Regions from separate parts of the Homo sapiens genome. Here all the other regions are linked to region 1. The links are contacts of gene promoters, found by promoter capture Hi-C in human tissues and cell types (Jung and others, 2019). All regions are on one chromosome and are shown on one strand. The core of a region is centred on a gene start or on the middle of the fragment in contact, and the rest is flanking DNA. Distances in the headings are between cores, read along the strand shown. Region 1 holds the start of RAB15 (RAB15, member RAS oncogene family). Region 2 overlaps SPTB (spectrin beta, erythrocytic). Region 3 overlaps SPTB (spectrin beta, erythrocytic). Region 4 overlaps SPTB (spectrin beta, erythrocytic). Region 5 has its middle 27 kb from the start of MAX.

Region 1 (3,615 bases), core at 629-3,128:
AAGAGTTGGCCTTACAGCTCCTCTGAGAAAGACGGACAAGTTCTGTTCCCTGACCCTAAGTCCTGTTGTTTCACCCTTCAAGTTGGTGAAACAAAGAGAGGAGACCCTAAAAGCTCAATGATAATGGCAATAGCAGTAAGAACAATCAGCATTTATCGAGCTTCACCATGTGTCTGGCTGTGCTAAGCACTTAACAATCGTTATCTCATTTAATCTTGACAACAACTTGGCAGGTAGGTGCAATTATTATACCCGTTCTACAGATGAGAAACTAAATAAAGCTCAGAAGTTTAGGCAATATTCAAGGTTGCTTTGCCCCACAGTGAGGTCTCAGGTCTCTTGGACAATAAAGCTGGCTTCTTAACCAGAAGGTTCTGTTCCTCCTGGCTGTATCTATCTGCTCCTACTTCTCTCTCAGCAAGGAATGTGTGTTGGGGGGAGGGGGGATGGTGTGGACATGAATCCTCAAGAGGAAGCTGAGAGCTGGTGCCCATCCCTGATGGCAGCAGGGACTTCTAGGAGAGCATTCCAAATGGATGACCAGCCAGCCAGCAGGTGTTTCCAGGGGCCTGGGCAATGCAGAGGCTACTCCAGGGCTGACCCGGGTAGCAGCTGAGGATGAAATTCCCTCTACTCAGACTTCTCAGGGAGGGGGCCCCTCACAGCCTAGAAGCGGGAGACTGACTGTCTCAGAGGGGAGGCCATGGACCCATTCCTAGAATAAGTGACCCCATCATAGTGCTGTCTGGGATGCCACCGGGTCTTGTCCCTCTAACCACAGGCTCCAGCACTGCCAGATGAGAGATGCCCTCAGGCGGGTCCTGCCTGCCTTCTGACCCCTTGGTCTGGGCAGGTATTCCTGACACTCCTCCATCCTCTTTAGCCTCCCTCAGAACAGATGTCTCCTCTTCCCAGGCGCAGGGGCTCCTCACCCTATCTGTGTCCTCCCCCAGGTGTCCCACCTTGCGGCTTACCTTCCCAACTCTGCCCTGGAAACTCGATCCCTGTGGCCCCTCCGTACGTCCTCTCTTCCCCCCCTCGCCCCCCGCCGGCTCCACCTTGGGTCACCACAGAACCAAGGGCGCCTCAGTGACTCCGGTCTCCACCCTGACCCCCTTTTCCGTAGCAGAAGCTTTACTTCCCCTCCCCCTGGGGGTGTGGGGATGTTATTCCAGCGGCTACGATTCTTGCTACCCCAGCTCGGGGTACCCAGGCCTACACCAGCTCCCCTCACCCCCGGTTTCTCGGTTTGATGGGACGGAAGGCTTCCCGGCAAGAGGCGGGAGACCCCACCCCTGGTCCGGACGGCAGGCAGCAGGGACACCCTCACCTGCCAAAACCTATGCTCACCCCGAGATTTATCCCGGACTCCGGCCTCCGGCGCCACCGCCTCCAGCCGGAGGGGCTGGCAATTCCTCCCCAGCTGGGGACGGGGGCGGCGGGGAAAGGGGCCGCGGGCGGGGAGGGAGGGGCGCCCCGGGCCACCGCCCCTTACCGATGGTGGAGATGTGCGAGGAGTGGAACTCGTTGTCGGTGAAGCGGCACAGCAGGCAGGTCTTGCCCACCCCGGAGTCCCCGATCAGCAGCAGCCGGAACAGCACATCGTACTGCTTCGCCATGACTGGGGCCAGCGGGGCCGGGAACTGCGGGCGGGCAGCGGGCTCAGCCCTGCTCCGCCGCTGCCATCGCGGCCCGCGCCCGCCCGGGGACGCTGCGGGCGGCGAGGAGGACGCCGGGCCCGGCCCCCGCGGCTGCCTCGCCCGCCCGCCTGCCCACTCGCTCGCTGGGTGCCGGGAAGCGCGGCTGCGGCGGGAGCCCGGCGCGGCGCCCGCTCGGCTCGGCTCGGCTCGGCTGGGCTGGCGCGAGGCGGTGGGAGGAGAAACCGGCGGCGGCCCCTGCCCGCCCCTTCCCCTGCGCCGCCGCCGCCGCCCCGGAGAGAGGGGGCGGGGAGCGCGCGCAGGAGAGCGGGACCCCATCGAGCAGGCGACGCTGGGGCGGGGCGCCAGCCCCCCCTCCCAACCCCTTCCTGCCCGGGGCGGGGGAACGTTTTCGTTTTTCCGCGGACGCTCCGAATGGGGGAGTTGAGGTGAGCCCCCACCCAGCCCACTTCTACCGTGCTCCGCTTTCCGGGCTCACCACTTCTCCCCATATCCCACCCCAAGTCTGGCGCCGGTAATTCCGCCCGCCGTGGCACCCTGCATCTGCAGGATCTGGCCGGGCTCCCCAGTGGCTGGTACCTCAGCTGGGCTCACCCGAGGTAGGAAGGCCTTGAGCAGGATCTGGATTCGAACACCCGTCTCCATGAGTCCCCGAGAGTGTGGGTGGAATTCCCCCTCCCTGCCATCTGGCTGCCCCTTACCTGTGTGACTGTGTCACGGCCCTCCCCCGTCCCCATTTTTTCTTTAAATGGGGAAAATGCCTATTCACGGCCTCCACCAGGGTGAAAAGATAGATGGCCATAAGAACATCTCCAAGTGCAAAATCCTTTAGAGGTGTGCGGGCAAGTCTCCGTTTTCCCTCTAAGGTGCTTAGGATAGGTGCCCAGGTGACCAATGTATTGTTTCAGACCCCTAAATTTCTCTGTGGTATAGCCAGTGGCACCAAAGAATGAATGGCCCTTGTTCAAGATCCAGTTTCCTACCACTGAATGTGTTAGCACCGGAGAGAGGCAAATGAATGCTCTCCGGAGTTGAGAAAATTGCCTATCCCTACCAACGAGTATTGAGGGAGAGCAAAGTCTAGCCTATTAGGTCTTTAAAAAGCAATGAAAGGCTAGGCGCGTTGGCTCATGCCTGTAATCCCAGTACTTTGGGAGGCTGAGGCGGGCAGATCACTTTGAGGTCAGGAGCTGGAGACCAGCCTGGCCAATGTAGTGAAACCCAGTCTCTACTAAAAATAAAAAAAAATTAGCTGGGCACGGTGGCTCGCCTGTAATCCCAGGCTTGAGAGGCTGAGGTGGGAGGATTGCTTGAACCCATTAGGGGAAGGCTGCAGTGAGCCGAGATCATGACACTGCACTCCAGCCTGCGCAACAGAGGGAGACCTTGTCTCAAAAAAAAAAAAAAAAAAGCAATGAAAAGTATATATGTACATACCTGTTTTCAGGCTGAATATTGGATGGAGAATGTATTTTTCAATAGTAGGTCAAGGAAAGTGGTAAGCCCATTTACTTCATTTGAAAAGGTATATTTCAGGTTAAGTGTCTGAATTATAATAAGAGGGGAAAAGTTCAAGACCAGCCTGGCCAACATGGTGAAACCCCATCTCTACTAAAAATATAAAAAAATTAGCTGGGCGTGGTGGCCGGTGCCTGTAATCCCAGCTACTCGGGAGGCTGAGGCAGGAGAATTGCTTGAACCTGAGAGGCGAAGGTTGCGGTGAGCCGAGATTGCGCCATTGCACTCCAGCCTGGGCAACAAGAGCAAAACTCTGTCTCAAAAAAAAAAAAAAAAAAAAGCCGGGGGGCGAAATCCCGAGCCTGCTAGCTACTCTGATTACACAGAAAGCTAAAGGAACTGATGTAGTGGATTCCATTATTTCGAGGTGCGCGTCTCCACAGTGGGCTTACATGGGGTTTCAGGTGCATGCCAAGGGCTCTGGAGTAAGGCACACTTG
Region 2 (3,615 bases), core at 492-2,991, 220 kb before region 1:
GAAAGAGGAGGCCCCTGGGGGCCCCAGGCAGAGACAGCCCTAGATAGACCAAACCCAAGGACATGACTGTTTCAGGGTCAGGAAAGGACGCAGCCTTTGAGTCAGTTCTCGGGGTCATAGAGTCACCAGATGACAGCATTAGAAGGGACCTCTGGGGGGCAACTAGGCCATGCCCCATCCCCATCACTCCCATTTTACAGCTGAGGACACCGAGGCCTAGACTGGTAAAAAGCGGGGCTCGAACAAGGATGTTGTTAGTGCCAAGACCTACCTAACCTTTAGAGCTACCTATCCCTAGCCCTGGGATAATAGGATAATAACAGCTAGTGTTCACCAAGTGCCTACTGTGTGCCAGGAACAGTATCTGTAGTGAAAAGACATACTGTTCTCATCCTCTCCTTCCAAATGGGGAAACCGATTTAAAGAGGTTGAGTAACTTGCATGAAGACACAGGATTTGAATTCAGGACCAGAACTGGAGATAGGCTTTCCCATCATGCCAAGTAGCCCTCGGGGCTGGCCCAGAGGGGTGTCTAGGAGCTCTCACAGGCCAAGGCAGAAGGCACCCCTCCCCCAGCACATGCCCATGTCACCAAGGCTCTGCTAGCAGAGAGATCCCTGAGAGCTGCCCAACCTACCCTCAGCCAGCAGCCTCTCCCGCACTCACCTGTTGGAAGCCTTCTTGTTGGGCCCCTCCAGGTCATGCTTGCGGCCCAGGTAGCCTTCCATCTGCACACTCTGCCCATGGTCCCGCGGGGCCGGCAGCGTTGCGGGCTCATCACCCTCGCTCAGAGGCGTATCTAGGACCTTAAAGAGGGGCTCCGTGGTGGGCCTCTCATCCCCAGTGGATTTCTGCCCATCCTTGTGCTGACCCGGCGGTGGTGGCTGCTGCAGGTTCTGAGGCCACGTTCCCTCTTCTTCCCCCTGCTCAGGGCATAGGGAGGAGCACACCTTTCTGGGTACTCTGGCTTAGAGATGGCTGTTCTCAGCAAAATTGGGAGGTCAGCAGCCACCCTCTCCACACCCCCAAGCCTACTTCCTTTCTACTCCCACCTCCTGGCCCACCCTGGCTCTCCCACAACCTGCTATGGGTGCCCCCTTGCTTCTCTACTCTGCCTGTGCTTCTGGCTCCATTTCCACCCCATTCTCCCTTCAGAGAGCTGCAGGGTGGCCCCCTCTCTCCAATGTAACATAGCAACGGAAGGTTCTCAGAGTGAGCCAAAGGGGCCTGAGTGATTATTTCATTAAAGGGGTGTGAGGGGGGGCAGGTTCCAATGCTGCTGGCAAAGCTCTGGCCCCTCCCCTTGCTGCAGCCAGACACTCGTATGAGGAAAGTTCTGCTGCTAAGACAAGTTCGGCAACCACTTATAGTAGAATGTTGAATGGGAACTCTTCTGGTACTTTCAAATTGTGCCTAAAGCCCTAAAACTAAGGGTACCAGGTCCTAAGTCTGCCCGCCCCTGCCACCTTACAAAGGGAGAACCCAGACCCTCCCTGGCCATCAGCAGGTCTAACAGGTCCTTTCTCCATCATTTGATGGGAACTTTTTGGACAGGGCAGTGGTTCCTAACCCTGGCTGCCTTCCGCAATCACCTCAGGTGCTTTCAAAAGAAACATTCTCAGGCTCCATCTCAAGATGCTGAGTTAACTGGCCCCGGGGGTCGGCACATTGGTATCTCTTACTGAGCATTTCATGGGATCTAATGTTCAGCAGGAGTTGAGAATCCCCCTCGTAAGGAGGCACAGCCTTGGGGAACTGCTGTGGTCTTTACCTCCCTGCACCTCCCTGTGGAGACCTGGGGATGCCTGGCCCCTGCCCAAGTCAAGGGAGGGGCCTCCAATGGTGCCACTCACTGTATGACATACAGGTGCCCACGAGAAGGGGAAGCTGACCTGCCATTCCCTGGCTGGGCATCTCCTTATGCTAGACCTTGCTGATCTGCCCTTTTGCCTGTTGGGGCAGAAGAAAGAGAGGGCAGGACAGATTGGGGCAGCAGCGGGCGGCCTCCCATTGCCAGGTGGGGCAAGAATGGGTGGGTCTCCTCCGTGCCAAGTGAGCACCAAGGAAGGCAGCCTCACTGGAGCCATCTGGCCAGGACCCGGTCCCAAAGACCTGACTGCTAAACACCTTTCAGCAAGAGGTAGGAAGGCCCCCAAGCAGCTGGATGCCTGAAGCACCAAGGACATCTTCAGCCAGGAGGTCAGAAAAGGTTCTTTTTCTGCTCCCTCCTCCCTGCCCCAACAGCTGAAGACAGAGGTCCAGAAGAGTGCTGGGGAGGAGAGGGAAGGAGCCAGGAGAGAGCAGACCATGTTCTCCTCCCTGGTCTGAATCCTTTAGACTATGGGGCAAACCCGAAACAGAGGATGGAGGATGGGAGGATGTGGGCCCCATGTTGGACATCAGATCGAAGCTTTAAACTGAAACAACTGGGCAGACTTTTTATCCACTGAAAGTGACCAGGGTCTGCCTGAGGTGGCCTTAGGAATGGGAAGGGGGGCTCAATGGAGACGTTGGAAGGCAGTGGTTGCAAGAAAGATAAAACTGGTCATGTTTGTATCTCATCAAATTAGGACTGTTCAGTAAACAGGTTACATGGTAGGGATCCAGTAAGATTTCATTTAAAGAAAGGGTTATGTGGCTGGGAAAGTTTGGAAACCACTGACTTAGTCTAATGCTTTCGATCTATAATGAGAAAACCAGTGCTCAGAGAGGTCAAGTGACTTGCCCAAGGTTATACTGTCGGAGTAGGCAGATAAATATGAGCAGGTGGGAAAGCCTCTGAGAAAGGGAGGTCTGGAAAGTCTCACACCCCAGAGACCATCCAAAACATTCACCCTAGATATGAGCAGAGAGGAGGGGAAATATCTATGCAGGAAGGAACACCCCAAGACACCCCTTAAGATGCCCAGTCATCACTCTGCAGTTAACCTGTGGGAATGTAGCCAGCTGCATGCTAAGGAGGGAAAGAAAGCAAAGGAGAAATTCCTACGAGATATGCACGTGCAATAAATACCAATATACACCCTTCCTGGAGTGGCAGTAATTAGCAACATCACCATTCGATAGGATTCATATCCGACACCCGCCCCTGCAGGTTCATCAGCTGACAGTAAGGGAGAGTCCCACAAACCTGGGGCGGGAACTAGGTGGGGCGAAAAGATGGAGACATAAGATAGAGGCAGGAAATTAGACAAAGGTGGAGACTTGAGACAGAGGCAGGAACCTAAATAGAGTGTGACCTAATAAAAACCGCAAGGCAGAACTCTCTAGTTGCTGGCTCATCTTTCGAGCAGCCTGCTCTGCCTCATCTTTCAGAGTGTATTGTCTCTGCTGCTACCTCACTCTTGCTGTGAATACTGCTGCTTCCCAGGCGGACCTGCTGGCTCCTCTCTTGGAGTCTACTTCAATAAACTCCCAGGCCGGGCATGGTAGCTCACGCCTGTAATCCCAACACTTTGGGAGGCCGAGGCAGGTGGATCACGAGATCAGGAGATTGAGACCATCCTGGCTAACACAGTGAAACCCCGTCTCTACTAAAAATACAAAAAATTAGCTGGGCGTGGTGGCACGTGCCTGTAGTCCCAGCTACTTGGGAGGCTGAGGCAGGAGAATCGC
Region 3 (3,615 bases), core at 757-3,256, 200 kb before region 1:
CGCTGCCTCCCGCAGCCTGTCCCAGGAGCTCTGCAGGTGCCCCAGGCGCTCCTCAAGGTCCTGGCAGTCGATCTCCGCCGCCTCCACCAGCTGCTGCCCTCTCTGCAGCACATCCTCAACCCGCGGCGTATGGCCCAGAATCTCATTCTGCAGTGTCTGCGGCCAGAAGGAAGGGCTCGGGGCAGGGCCTTCCCACCATGCGGGGGAGGCTGCTTCAGCAGTGGCAGCACAGCTCTGACACCCTTGGTCCCTCTCACCCCCGTTGCTAGAGCAGAGCAGGTGATGGCGATAAGAACTACCAATGACCTCTTGCGGGCTGCTAAGCACCTCATGTGCACCATTCTTGCACCCTCAGGTGGCCTGCTGAGATAAGCATGTGGAGACCAGCATGCAGCAGTGAAGTCACTCAGTGGCAGAGCCGGAGTTGAACACAGCTCCACCTGACCTGGCAGCCTGTGCTCTTGACTGTCCCCTATCTTCCTGTGCTTCAGCAGAGCTTGATTCCTTAGGTGTATGTGTTGGAAGGAAAAGAAAAATGGCCTTTTTGATACCTTATTCTAACAGCTTTTGCAGGATTTATGCAGGATCATTTACGCAGGATACGCCCAACCCAGCAGCTCAGGTGGGCACAGTTTTTGCCTTCCATCTAAAAGAACAGGTGACAGCAGCCCCTTGCTTACAGTCTCAGCTTTTGTTTTTCCCTACTTCTATTTCTCATATTTTTGTGAGCTTTGCATTAGTCCCTGTTTGAGCCTTTGGTCATGAACACAGCCTCTTCCTCCCACCCTGGTGGCTGGTCACCTTTTTCTTCAGGAGGCCCTGACACGTGTTACTTGTTTTCTGGGTCCTAAAGACTGGGCTAGCTGCTGCTGGTGTGTGGGCTCCTGAGCTCCATATACCTCACTACCTGTTTCTTCCCTCTCTATATAATTTTCCTGTGGCCTTTAAAATTGGAAGGCAGGGGCAAGAGCAGCCCACATGAGCAGCACAGTGATGGCCAGCATTTAAAATATGCACAAAATAACCACATCTACAAGTCACATAACCTGCTGAAATGCATTTTTACACTTTATGCTCAGAACCTCAATTTTTACAATTTCCTATAGTCTCTGCAGTTGCATTCAAACAACCCATGTTTTCAGCTCCATTTGCTTGTTTACTCTGAGATCTTATGACCTCTGCATGGTGCCCTAAAAATTAATTTCTTTTTTTTAAGATAGGGTCTCACTCTAGTCACCCAGGCTGGAGTGCAGTGGCACAATCAGCTCACTGAGCCTCAACTTCCCAGGCTCAGATGATTCTCCCACCTCAGCCTCCCAAGTAGCTTGGACTACAGGTATGTACCACCACATCTGGCTAATTTTTTGTATTTTTTGTAGAGATGGGCTTTTGCCATGTTGCCCAGGCTGGTCTCAAACTCCTGGGCTCAGGCGATCCACCCGCTTCGGCCTCCCAAAGTGCTGGGATTACGGGTGTGAACCACTGCGCCCGGCCTAAAAGGGTATTTCTTCCTTTTTAACCAATTACTTTCTAGTATCTGTGCAGGGTACTTACATTTAAAGTCTTCTTCCCTGTCTTCATTCATTCAACAACTATGTATTAAGTTCTTTTCTATGTACCAGACCCTGGTCTAGGTAATAGGGACAATATAGAAACAAGAGAAATGAAAATCCCTGCACTTTAAAGCTTACAACCTGGTAGAGGAAATAGAAGGTAAACATGCAAATAAATGAATAAACAAAGGCTGGGCCTTCCTCCCTGGGGGCTACGAGGAAAAGACAACAGTGGGATGGAGAATGTCTGCTGCGATGTGGCAGGAGCCACTTTAGCTAAGGGAGTCAGGGAGGGCCTCTCTGAGGATACGAAACTTGACCATGACATGAATGACGGGAGGGAGGCAACCACACAGAGATCTGGGGTTGAGTGTTCCTGGCAAGAGGACTGAACAAGTGCAAAGGCTCTGGGGTGGACATGAGCTGGGACCGTCTGAGGCCACAGAGAGGGCCAGAAGAGCTGGAATACTGTGAAGGAGGGCAAAGTGAGAAGAGCTGAGTTTCAGAAGCAGGCAGGGGTCAGGTCAGGCAAGAGTGGTTCTTAATCCTGATTGCCCACTGAATAATCCAGGGAAACAGATGCAGCTAGGGGCCTACCCCCAGAGATCCTAATTGATCTGAGGTGAGACCTGGGCATTCATCTGTCTAAAAGTTCCCTAGGTGATGTGAGTGTACAGCCAGGGGTGAGAGCCCTTCATGTACTACCTTGTGGAATTTGTTCTAATTGCAATGAATAGCCCTGGGAACAGTGGTCCCCAAAGTGCAGTCCTGAACCAGCAGCATCGGCATCACCTAGGATCTTGTTGGAAATGCAAATTATTAGGCTCTACCCCCAGAGCTTGATGCAGTAGGGATCTGGGGGTGGCACCTGGTTAAGTCGTGTAAACTCACCCAGAAGGCTTGTTAAAGGAGTTGCATATTGGAGTTTGACAACCATTGCAACAGAGGGTTTTAGGTGAGGAAATGATAAAATTGGATTTATGGTTTAGCCAGGTGAGCCTAAAATAGTCTTCATTAGGGCAGTCACGCTGTCCCAAGAGGCTGCCTTTCCCTTCTTGGTTAGGGGAACCCCATCCGTATTTGTCTTGCCCTTTTCCCGAAATAGCAACTGCCAGCCAGGGGAGTTAAAAACCTTTGAACAATAACACTTACAGAGGCTGCATAGAATCAAAAATCCTAGTGTTGGAAAGACTAGAGTTGGCTCATTTTACAATTAAGGAAACTGAGGTCCCAAGGATACCATGTCCTACCAGCCTTCCACCTTTAGCTGAAGGTTGTGGCATTAACTGAGGCTAGATTTCTATCATCTTCTAGCCCAGGTCCCTGCGTGTGGCTGCTGGAGCCTCTGCGACTAGATCATGTCAACCAGAAGCAAAGGGCCTAAGGCAGCTTTGAAGAAACTTCTCTGAATATAATCTAGGCCTCTGCACTGCTGCTGGGCTCACATGGTCCTGTGAGCAGATGTCAGCTGCTGCCAAGCTGGGGGAAGGGAGTGCTGTCTGCCATGACCTTCCTTCCTCAAGGAGCTGCAATACTAACCGGGCACTCTGGGACATGTCACTTTTATCTGGGATCTAAGTTCCTGGGCTCTCCTTGCTGACCCAGAGAGCATGCAGAGGGAGGGTCTCTCTGTCCAAGAAGGGTCTGTGGCCATTCCCCTGGCCGCTGCGACCCCACACAGCCAGCTTCCTTACATGATTCAGGCTCCCACTGCAGCCCTGACCCAAGAGGGAGTGCTTGGCATCTGCTCACATCCAGGATCCTGACCAGGGCCACAGGAGTTCCCAATCAGGGCTAAGCGAGTGCCAAAAAGCAGAGGGATGTTTGCTCCAAGGGCTCAGAGTCCAAAGTTAGTGGCTTCCTAATGGAATTTGAGCCCCACAAGTATCCTCATATGTCGAGAGAAATGGGGCCTACTTACCCCAAGGACACCACACATGCCAAGCTCAGCCCTGGAAGAGGGGCAAGGCAGTGTTGTGGGAGAGAGATCAGGAGTTACTGCCCTCCTCTCAGGCAGACCACTGGATACACCGAATACACAGCTACTGAAGCACATCAACCT
Region 4 (3,615 bases), core at 1,116-3,615, 180 kb before region 1:
GGTGTCTGGCATTTCCATCTCGGCCAGCCACTTCTCCTTCTCTCCCATCCACAGCTCACAGGCGTCTGTCTCCCCGAACACCGTGTACAGGTCCAGGGCTTCCTGCAGCCTCTGCTGACGCAGGTCCGCCTGGGCCACCACCTGTTGGTAGAGCTCCCGCAGGGCCTGCAGCCGATGGGTCACATCTGGGGAATCCCGAAACTCTTCGGGGAATCCCTGGGCCTGCTGCTCCAGGTGCTCCATCACCCCACGGCTCTCCTCCAGCTCCTCCAGGAAGTCCTTGTGCTTTTTCCCCAGGGCCCGCGTGGCCCCTTCGTCCTGCCCCACATCTTCACCAGAGAGCAGCCGGTGGGCGTCTTGCAGCCAAGCCTTCAGGTCATCCGCATCGCCCTGGAACTGGAAAAAGTTCTCAGCATCCTGGAGGTTCTTCTTGCAGAAGGCAGCCAGGTCCTTCAGCTGGTCCCACTGTGCCGACACCTCCTTTATGCGGGCCTCGATCTGCGGGTGCCCAAACTGCTTGCGCGCAACCATGCCATGAGCCTCCTGGAAGATCTGCTCCAGGTGAGCATCCAGCCCACGGAGCTCATCCTCAAAGGCCTTGTGCTTGCGCTGTAAGATGAGCACACTGGTCAGGTCTTTGCCATAGTCCAGGGAAGAATAGATCTGCTCCTTCTCCTTGATCCAGCTCTCAGCCTCATCCATCTCCCAGAAGAACTTCCAGAGTCGTTTGGACTGCTCCAGTTGGGCCTTCCGCCCAGCTGCCATGTTGCTCAGCTCCTCAAAGCACTGCTCCAAGTGGCTGATGCGGTCCTGGATGACCTGGGGGTCACAAGGCTGGTACCCTGGAAGAAATAGGGGGAAGGAGGACAAAGTGGGGGATGGGCTTCATTTATGGGCACGCTTCAGATAAGCTGCTAGGTTGGAACTACACAACCCTGAAGCTGCCATGTCACTGGGGCTTTGGGGTTGGATGCAGGGGGGTCCCAGTTGCTCAGAGGGTGGACAGATTCTTTATAATTATTTCCCACTGAACTTCAGGGTTAAGGAAGATAAAAAGTGGGGTTAGTTCTTAATAGAAATGTACAACATAAAATTATTTTTAAATTAATTAAAAAAATTTCAAGGTCATTCTTGAAAGATGCAGTGAGGTCTCTTATTTAAAACAAGAATCTGGAAACCTAAATTGTCTCAGCCATAACTTGAACTAGCAAGGAGAATGAAGGACAGAGGGTGCCTCCTTGGTGATTATAGGTTACCGAAGCAGTTGCCTGCTCTCTAGAGAATTTGGCTGGTCCCTCAAGCTTCTTTCTTGGACCATTACTTGATGAAAGTAACAGAACTTTAAAGTTGGTTCCAGGAGATTTATCCAAGTTGGGTTGTTAGGCCAGAGGTGAGGCTCTGGCATTGGAAGCCTCAAAAGGGGAGACAGACTTGGTCTCACCTTTCCCCTCGGTGAACTTCAGGGTGGCTGCGGTGATGGCCTTCACTTTGTCCCCTTGGATGGCGATGTCAGCTTCCATCAACTTGTGCTTCTGTAGCAGGTCTTCAACCTCCAACAAGTGCTTCCCAAACTCGGCAGACAAGAGGTGAGCCTGGCAAAGAGAACAGCAGAAAGGAAATGAGGAGAAGTGAAGAGACCTACACATTAGGAGAAGAGACCCCTGCAAAGGGCATGTCTCTAGTAATCTGAGCAAGGGTGAGCCAAATGCAGCCAGAAAAGGGCTGCTGCTGAGGATGGAAGAAGCTCCAGAGGGAGAGTGCCTACTGGGGGTGCCCATCAGCATCATCCATAGAACATCTTACAGATGCTCAAGCCCCACACTCATCTACTGCATCGGTCTCAGGGTTGGGGCCTGGCCATGTGTATTTTCACAAAGCTCCAGGGGCAGTCTGATGTGTGTCCTCAGCTGAGACCCACTGCGGCAGAGAGAGAGGAGAGGTTGCCCTCATGCTGGGAGGTCTGGATTCTAACCAGAGTCAAATTGTAATTACTAAGAGCTTGATTCTCCAGGTTCCTGATTAATGTCTGTCTCTTCAAGGCCCTGAAGGTTGGCACCGGTGCTGCCACAAACCCAAGATTTCTCGGTCACCAGGGTACCATGGACCTGGGCTGGTATCACCTGCTGGAGCAGAGTGGACCAAGAGGCAGAGAGGCAGGTGCAGCTAGACACTTTGCTGCCTCAGTTTCTCTATTTTGACTCAGAGATATGACTGGCTGGGAGGTGTCTAAGGAAGCCTATGCTAACTGCAGGGCCACTGAGACCCAAGGTGAGCACTGCAGGGCATGGCGGGGGCGGCCCCCAGGGCCCACCTTGATCTCATCCATCCAGTCGATGCTGTGCAGCATGTCCTGGAAGAGCTTCTGCAGTGCCAGGGTGGTCTCGAGCCTCTGGCGCCGGGACTGCAGCAGCTCCTGCAGGTAGCTCCATAGGCGCAGTATATTGTCCTTGCGGGCCGTGATGCGCTTCTGGTCATGGTAGTTCTCTTTCTCCAGCTCCTGAGCCAGGTCCTCCAGGGCTCTCACCCGCTCCTCGTAGGCAGCCGTGTCGGTCTCGATGGCCTCATGCTTCTTCTTGGCGGCCTCCACAGCTGCCAGGTCATACCCAAAGTTATCCTGCCCCACCGGGAGAAAAACAGGCAGCTCAGTCAGACACCCAGGGGCTCATCCCCAAACTCAGGGACAGGGCAGCTCCCTTCAGAACCAGTGCTAGATGGGAAAGCACATTCCCAAGAAGCAGCTAGTTCTGCCTTACTTTTGCAGCCTGTCTTATCAGACCCAAGTTCCAAAAATTAATGTCTCACAAGAGACTCTAAGAGAAGTTCATGATTTTACTCCCCGTGCCACCCGCGTGGGAGATGCAGCCTGCGTGTTACTAATGGAGCCCCTTGGCAGCCTGCTGGCACTCCCCACATGCCTCGAGTGGACCTGTTGGATTTGGGGCAGGAAGGGGCTGCTTCTCACTCGGAAACCCATGCACCAGCAAACAGATGGTTTATTCACATGCTATCTGGGGTGCGCATACACTCTCCAGTGCTCTCAGAATACTTGTTGCCCCCTTTCTGGACAGAATCTAATTTGATTCCAAGCTTTAAGTGAGAGGGAACAGATGCTCTGATGAAGAATCAGCCCTGGGGTCAATTCTTAGCTAGAATTATGTCACAGCACCAGAGACCAGAGTCCAAAAGGCATGCCTGACACAGACAAGGTGCAGTCTGTGATTTTACCATATCCCCCAAGAACCACAATTTAACATCAACTGAAACCCCAGCTGTAGTTGACACTACAGGCCCACATAAGACAACTTCAGCGGCCAGTTCTAGACTCCAAGGCTCTTTCCTAAAAATGAGATTTAATAAATCCTGGAGAGCTCCTCCCCAGATGCAAATCTTGATCCACTGGATCACGGGGGAGCTGTGCTGCAAGGCACGAGGAGAGGCTGTGAGAAGCCAGCTTGGACTCCAGCCCAGCCAAGAGCTGGGGGCTCTGAAGAATGTCCCCTCTCCTGTCACCCAAAGCATGTCCCTCATTACCTGGGCCACGAGGCGCTGGTTTTCACTGAGCCAGGTCTCTCTCATTGCGGCCTTCCGGTCAAAGCGCCGGGCCAGTTGCTCTAG
Region 5 (3,615 bases), core at 539-3,038, 160 kb after region 1:
CCTGCCACCAGGCTTGGCTAATTTTTGTATTTTTAGTAGAGACAGGGTTTCACCATATTGGCCAGGCTGGTCTCGAACTCCTGGCCTCAAGTGATCTGCCTGCCTCAGTCTCCCAAAGTGCTGGGATTACAGGTGTGAGCCACCACGCCAAGCATATTCCACATCTTAATTGGCATTACCACCATCTATCTATCGAGGAACCCAAGCTTGAAACACAGAAGTTATCCTTGACTGCTTTCTTACAACCTGAAAGTCCATCTGGAACAGCCTCTGTATCTATTAAATAGACCAATAATATTACGAAACGTCTGTGTCTTGGAATATCATATTGCGATTTAGAGGAATGAAGTCAGTCTGTGTAGCAACATCATGGTAAAAGGAGAAAGTTGTGAAAGAGAATATGGAGATCCCATTTTTGTCAATCTTTGTACATGCAGCAGACCAAGGTGTGGTGAAGATGTATTCCAAACTGTTAAGGGATGTTATCTCTTTGGGATGGGATTTTTGAATTTTCTTTTCTGTACTGTTTGGAGTTTTGTTGTTGTTGTTATTTTTACAGTGATACATTTTAAAAAAACAATAAAGAGATTTTACTTTTGAAAAACTGCTTAACATAAATGAAATGGCAGAGACTTACAAAGGAGATAGAAGCTATTCACCTTCAAAGAACTTCAACTCTAATCAGACAAGGTAAAAATTATTTATATATATTATAGAATACTTGTAAAAACAACATGGAGGAAATACAAAAATCAAGGCAAGCTGCAGCTATAAGGAAGACTTCGCATTTGAGGAAATGAGAAGAAAGATGGATACTGGAGGATGTGGGGAGACTGAGAGCAAAGGGGGCACAACTGGAGAGGTCTTGGCTGTGAGATGACTTTTGAAGAAGGGAGGGTCCCGGGAGGCAGGAAGAAGGCTGTCTTCACAGAATGGGGGAGTGGGCTCTTGGTTCTGAGTTTTGAGCTATGTGGGAGGCTACAGCAAGATGCTCTGCTGGCAGGACAGGCTGTTTCTCCCTGGGTTTTTGTCTGTCCCTTAACTTCTTCTTTTTCTTTTTTTTTTTTTTTTGAGACAGAGTCTCACTCTGTCATCCAGGCTGGAGTGCAGTTGCGCATCTCAGCTCACTGCAACCTCTGCCTCATGGGTTCAAGAGATTCTCCCTCCTTGGCCTCCCAGGTAGCTTGGATTACAGGCACCCGCCATCATGCCCGGCTAATTTTTGTATTTTTGTAGAGATGAGGTTTCACTATGTTGGCCTGGCTGGTCTTAAACTCCTAATCTCAGGTGATCCACCCGCCTCGGCCTCCCAGGGTGCTGGGATTTACAGGTGTGAGCCACTGCGCCCGGCCTGTCCTTTAGCTTCTCTCATTTTTCACTCCTCCTTTCTCTACTGCTCAGGGACCTAGGGATAAAATGTGGCCCTGTTCACTCCAAAGAAAGCATAGGCCGGCCGGGCCTAATAAAAATACAAAAATCAGCCAGGCATGGTGGTGGACTCCTGTAATCTCAAATACTTGGGAGGCTGAGACAGGAGAATTGCTTGAACCTGGGAGGCAGAGGTTGTGGTGAGCCCAGATCACACCATTGCACTCCAACCTGGGTGACGAGCAAAATTGTGTCTCAAAATATAAAAAAAGGCATAGGCTAAACTCCCTTAATAGAGCCAAAAAAGTTGATATAAACAAAAGACATTTTATAAAAAATGAAGGAAATATCTAAAGAAAATAACACCTCCGAATGTAGCAACATAAACACAATTAGGTTTCTTATCCTAAGAAATTCTGTGAAAATATCTGAGATCAGTACATGGCTCTCAGATTCCCTGCTCTTGAAATGCATTCATTTTGCCCGGCGCGGTGGCTCATGCCTGTAATCCCAGCACTTTGGAAGGCTGAGGCAGGTGGATCACGAGGTCAGGAGTTTGAGACCAGCCTGGCCAACAGAGTGAAACCCCGTCTCTACTAAAAATACAAAAATTAGCCCAGCGTGGTGGCACGTGCCTGTAGTCCCAGCTACTCGGGAGGTTGAGGCAGGAGAATTGCTTGAACCCGGGAGGCGGAGGTTGTGGTGAGGCGAGATTGCGCCACTGCACTCCAGCCTGGGCAACAGAGTGAGACTCTGTCTCAAAAAAAAGAAATGCATTCATGTCAACTCTTCAAAGCCCAGCTTTGCAGGCATCTGGGCTTCTTATGCTCCCGGCTCCTGTGCCTGCCTCTCAGCGATGTGGCCTCTGGGTGTAATATTGCTTCCTAGTCCAGGGAACCTGGTCCAACAGACACATCTCATTCCACGTAAGGCCAAACTCCAGCTCCACTAAAACTCAACCTTCTGGAACTTCTAGAAGCCTGTCTTTCTCATCTAGTACAGTTAGTATAAGAGTATACCTAGTCCACAGCTGAGCTGTGAGCTGTATGTGTCCATACAGATGGATATCTTTAAGCCAGTGGTCCCCAACCTTTTTGGCACTGGGGACCAGTTTTTTGGAAGACAATTTTTCCATGGACAGTGGGGGTAGGGGTGAGGGTGCAGGGGTGTATTAGTCCATTTTCACACTGCTATAAAGAACTACCTGAAACTGGGTAATTTATGAAGAAAAGATGTGTAATTGACTCAGAGTTTCATACACTTAACATGAAGCACGATTGGAAGGCCTTGAGAAACTTACAATAATGGCCAATGGTAAAGGGTAGGCAAAGCATGTCTTAGAGGGCAGCAGGAGGGAGCGAGACAGCAAGAGGGGAAGTGCCCCACACTTTAAAACCATCAGATTTCTGCCAGGCATGGTGGCTCACACCTGTAATCCCAGCACTTTGGGAGGCCGAGGAGGGCAGATCACAAGGTCAGGAGTTTGAGACCAGCCTGGCCAACATGGTGAAACCCCTTCTCTATTAAAAATACAAAAATTATTCGGGTGTGGTGGCACGCGCCTGTAGTCCCAGCTACTCGGGAGGCTGAGGCAGGGGAATCGCTTTCACCTGGGAGGCAGAGGTTGTGGTGAGCCGAGATCACACCACTGCACTCCAGCCTGGGCAACAGAGTGAGATTCCATCTCAAAAACAAACAAACAAAAATCAGATTTCATCAGAATTCACTCACTCACTGTCAAGAGAAGAGCATGGGGGAAACCACCCCCATTATCCAATCACCTCCCACTAGGTCCCTCCCTCGACATGTGGGGATTACAATTGGAGGTGATATTTGGGAGGGGACACAGAACCAAACCGTATGGGTGTGGGGTAGGGGATGGTTTTAGGATGTAACTGTTCCACCTCATATCATCAGGCAGGTCACAATAGGGTTCGCGCTCCTATGAGAATCTAATGCCGCAGCTGATCTGACAGGAGGCAGAGCTCAGGCAGTAATGCTCGCCTGCTGCTCTATGGCCCGGTTCCTAACAGGCCACAGACCCTCACCAGTCCACGGCTTGGGGATTGGAGACCCCTGCTTTAAGCCCTTGCCACTCAGGTCTTTGGCTCCACCCACTTCAGAATCATTCTGTGATGATTCACTCACATGAGGTCCCTACACACAAGGAAGGCAGGGTCTTGTAAAAATCTGCCTGTTATAGTTTCATGACACGATAATAACCACATCATAAACATACCATTCACA

Evidence for each region. The method cuts DNA at HindIII sites, captures the fragments that hold promoters and counts their contacts. A contact is called where the count stands out against the background at its distance.
Region 2: a fragment that was not itself captured here is called in contact with the fragment with the promoter of RAB15 in region 1 in 1 of the 25 tissues and cell types used here (spleen).
Region 3: a fragment that was not itself captured here is called in contact with the fragment with the promoter of RAB15 in region 1 in 1 of the 25 tissues and cell types used here (spleen).
Region 4: a fragment that was not itself captured here is called in contact with the fragment with the promoter of RAB15 in region 1 in 2 of the 25 tissues and cell types used here (spleen and thymus).
Region 5: a fragment that was not itself captured here is called in contact with the fragment with the promoter of RAB15 in region 1 in 1 of the 25 tissues and cell types used here (spleen).

The regions. Positions count from the first base shown.
Region 1 is chr14:64,970,458-64,974,072 of GRCh38, forward strand. RAB15 (RAB15, member RAS oncogene family) reads right to left here and starts at 1,879. Exons shown (of 7, transcript NM_001308154.2): 1 at 1,496-1,879. The coding sequence starts at 1,619. The region is part of intron 3 of CHURC1-FNTB (CHURC1-FNTB readthrough); the gene reads left to right. RefSeq lists a silencer at 1,672-2,041. The HindIII fragment of the contact is 7,421 bases long and covers 68-3,615 here.
Region 2 is chr14:64,752,871-64,756,485 of GRCh38, forward strand. SPTB (spectrin beta, erythrocytic) reads right to left here. Exons shown (of 36, transcript NM_001355436.2): 33 at 667-923. Among named protein-coding and RNA genes, the nearest start is that of MIR7855, 31 kb to the right of the region's middle. The HindIII fragment of the contact is 3,233 bases long and covers 126-3,358 here.
Region 3 is chr14:64,775,248-64,778,862 of GRCh38, forward strand. SPTB (spectrin beta, erythrocytic) reads right to left here. Exons shown (of 36, transcript NM_001355436.2): 23 at 1-156. Among named protein-coding and RNA genes, the nearest start is that of MIR7855, 8.6 kb to the right of the region's middle. RefSeq lists enhancers at 1-81, 82-581. The HindIII fragment of the contact is 3,892 bases long and covers 61-3,615 here.
Region 4 is chr14:64,793,026-64,796,640 of GRCh38, forward strand. It overlaps SPTB (spectrin beta, erythrocytic), which reads right to left. Exons shown (of 36, transcript NM_001355436.2): 11 at 3,532-3,615; 12 at 2,312-2,614; 13 at 1,442-1,592; 14 at 1-842. Among named protein-coding and RNA genes, the nearest start is that of MIR7855, 9.1 kb to the left of the region's middle. The HindIII fragment of the contact is 5,542 bases long and covers 1-3,615 here.
Region 5 is chr14:65,127,968-65,131,582 of GRCh38, forward strand. No RefSeq gene overlaps it. Among named protein-coding and RNA genes, the nearest start is that of MAX, 27 kb to the left of the region's middle. The HindIII fragment of the contact is 4,433 bases long and covers 1-3,615 here.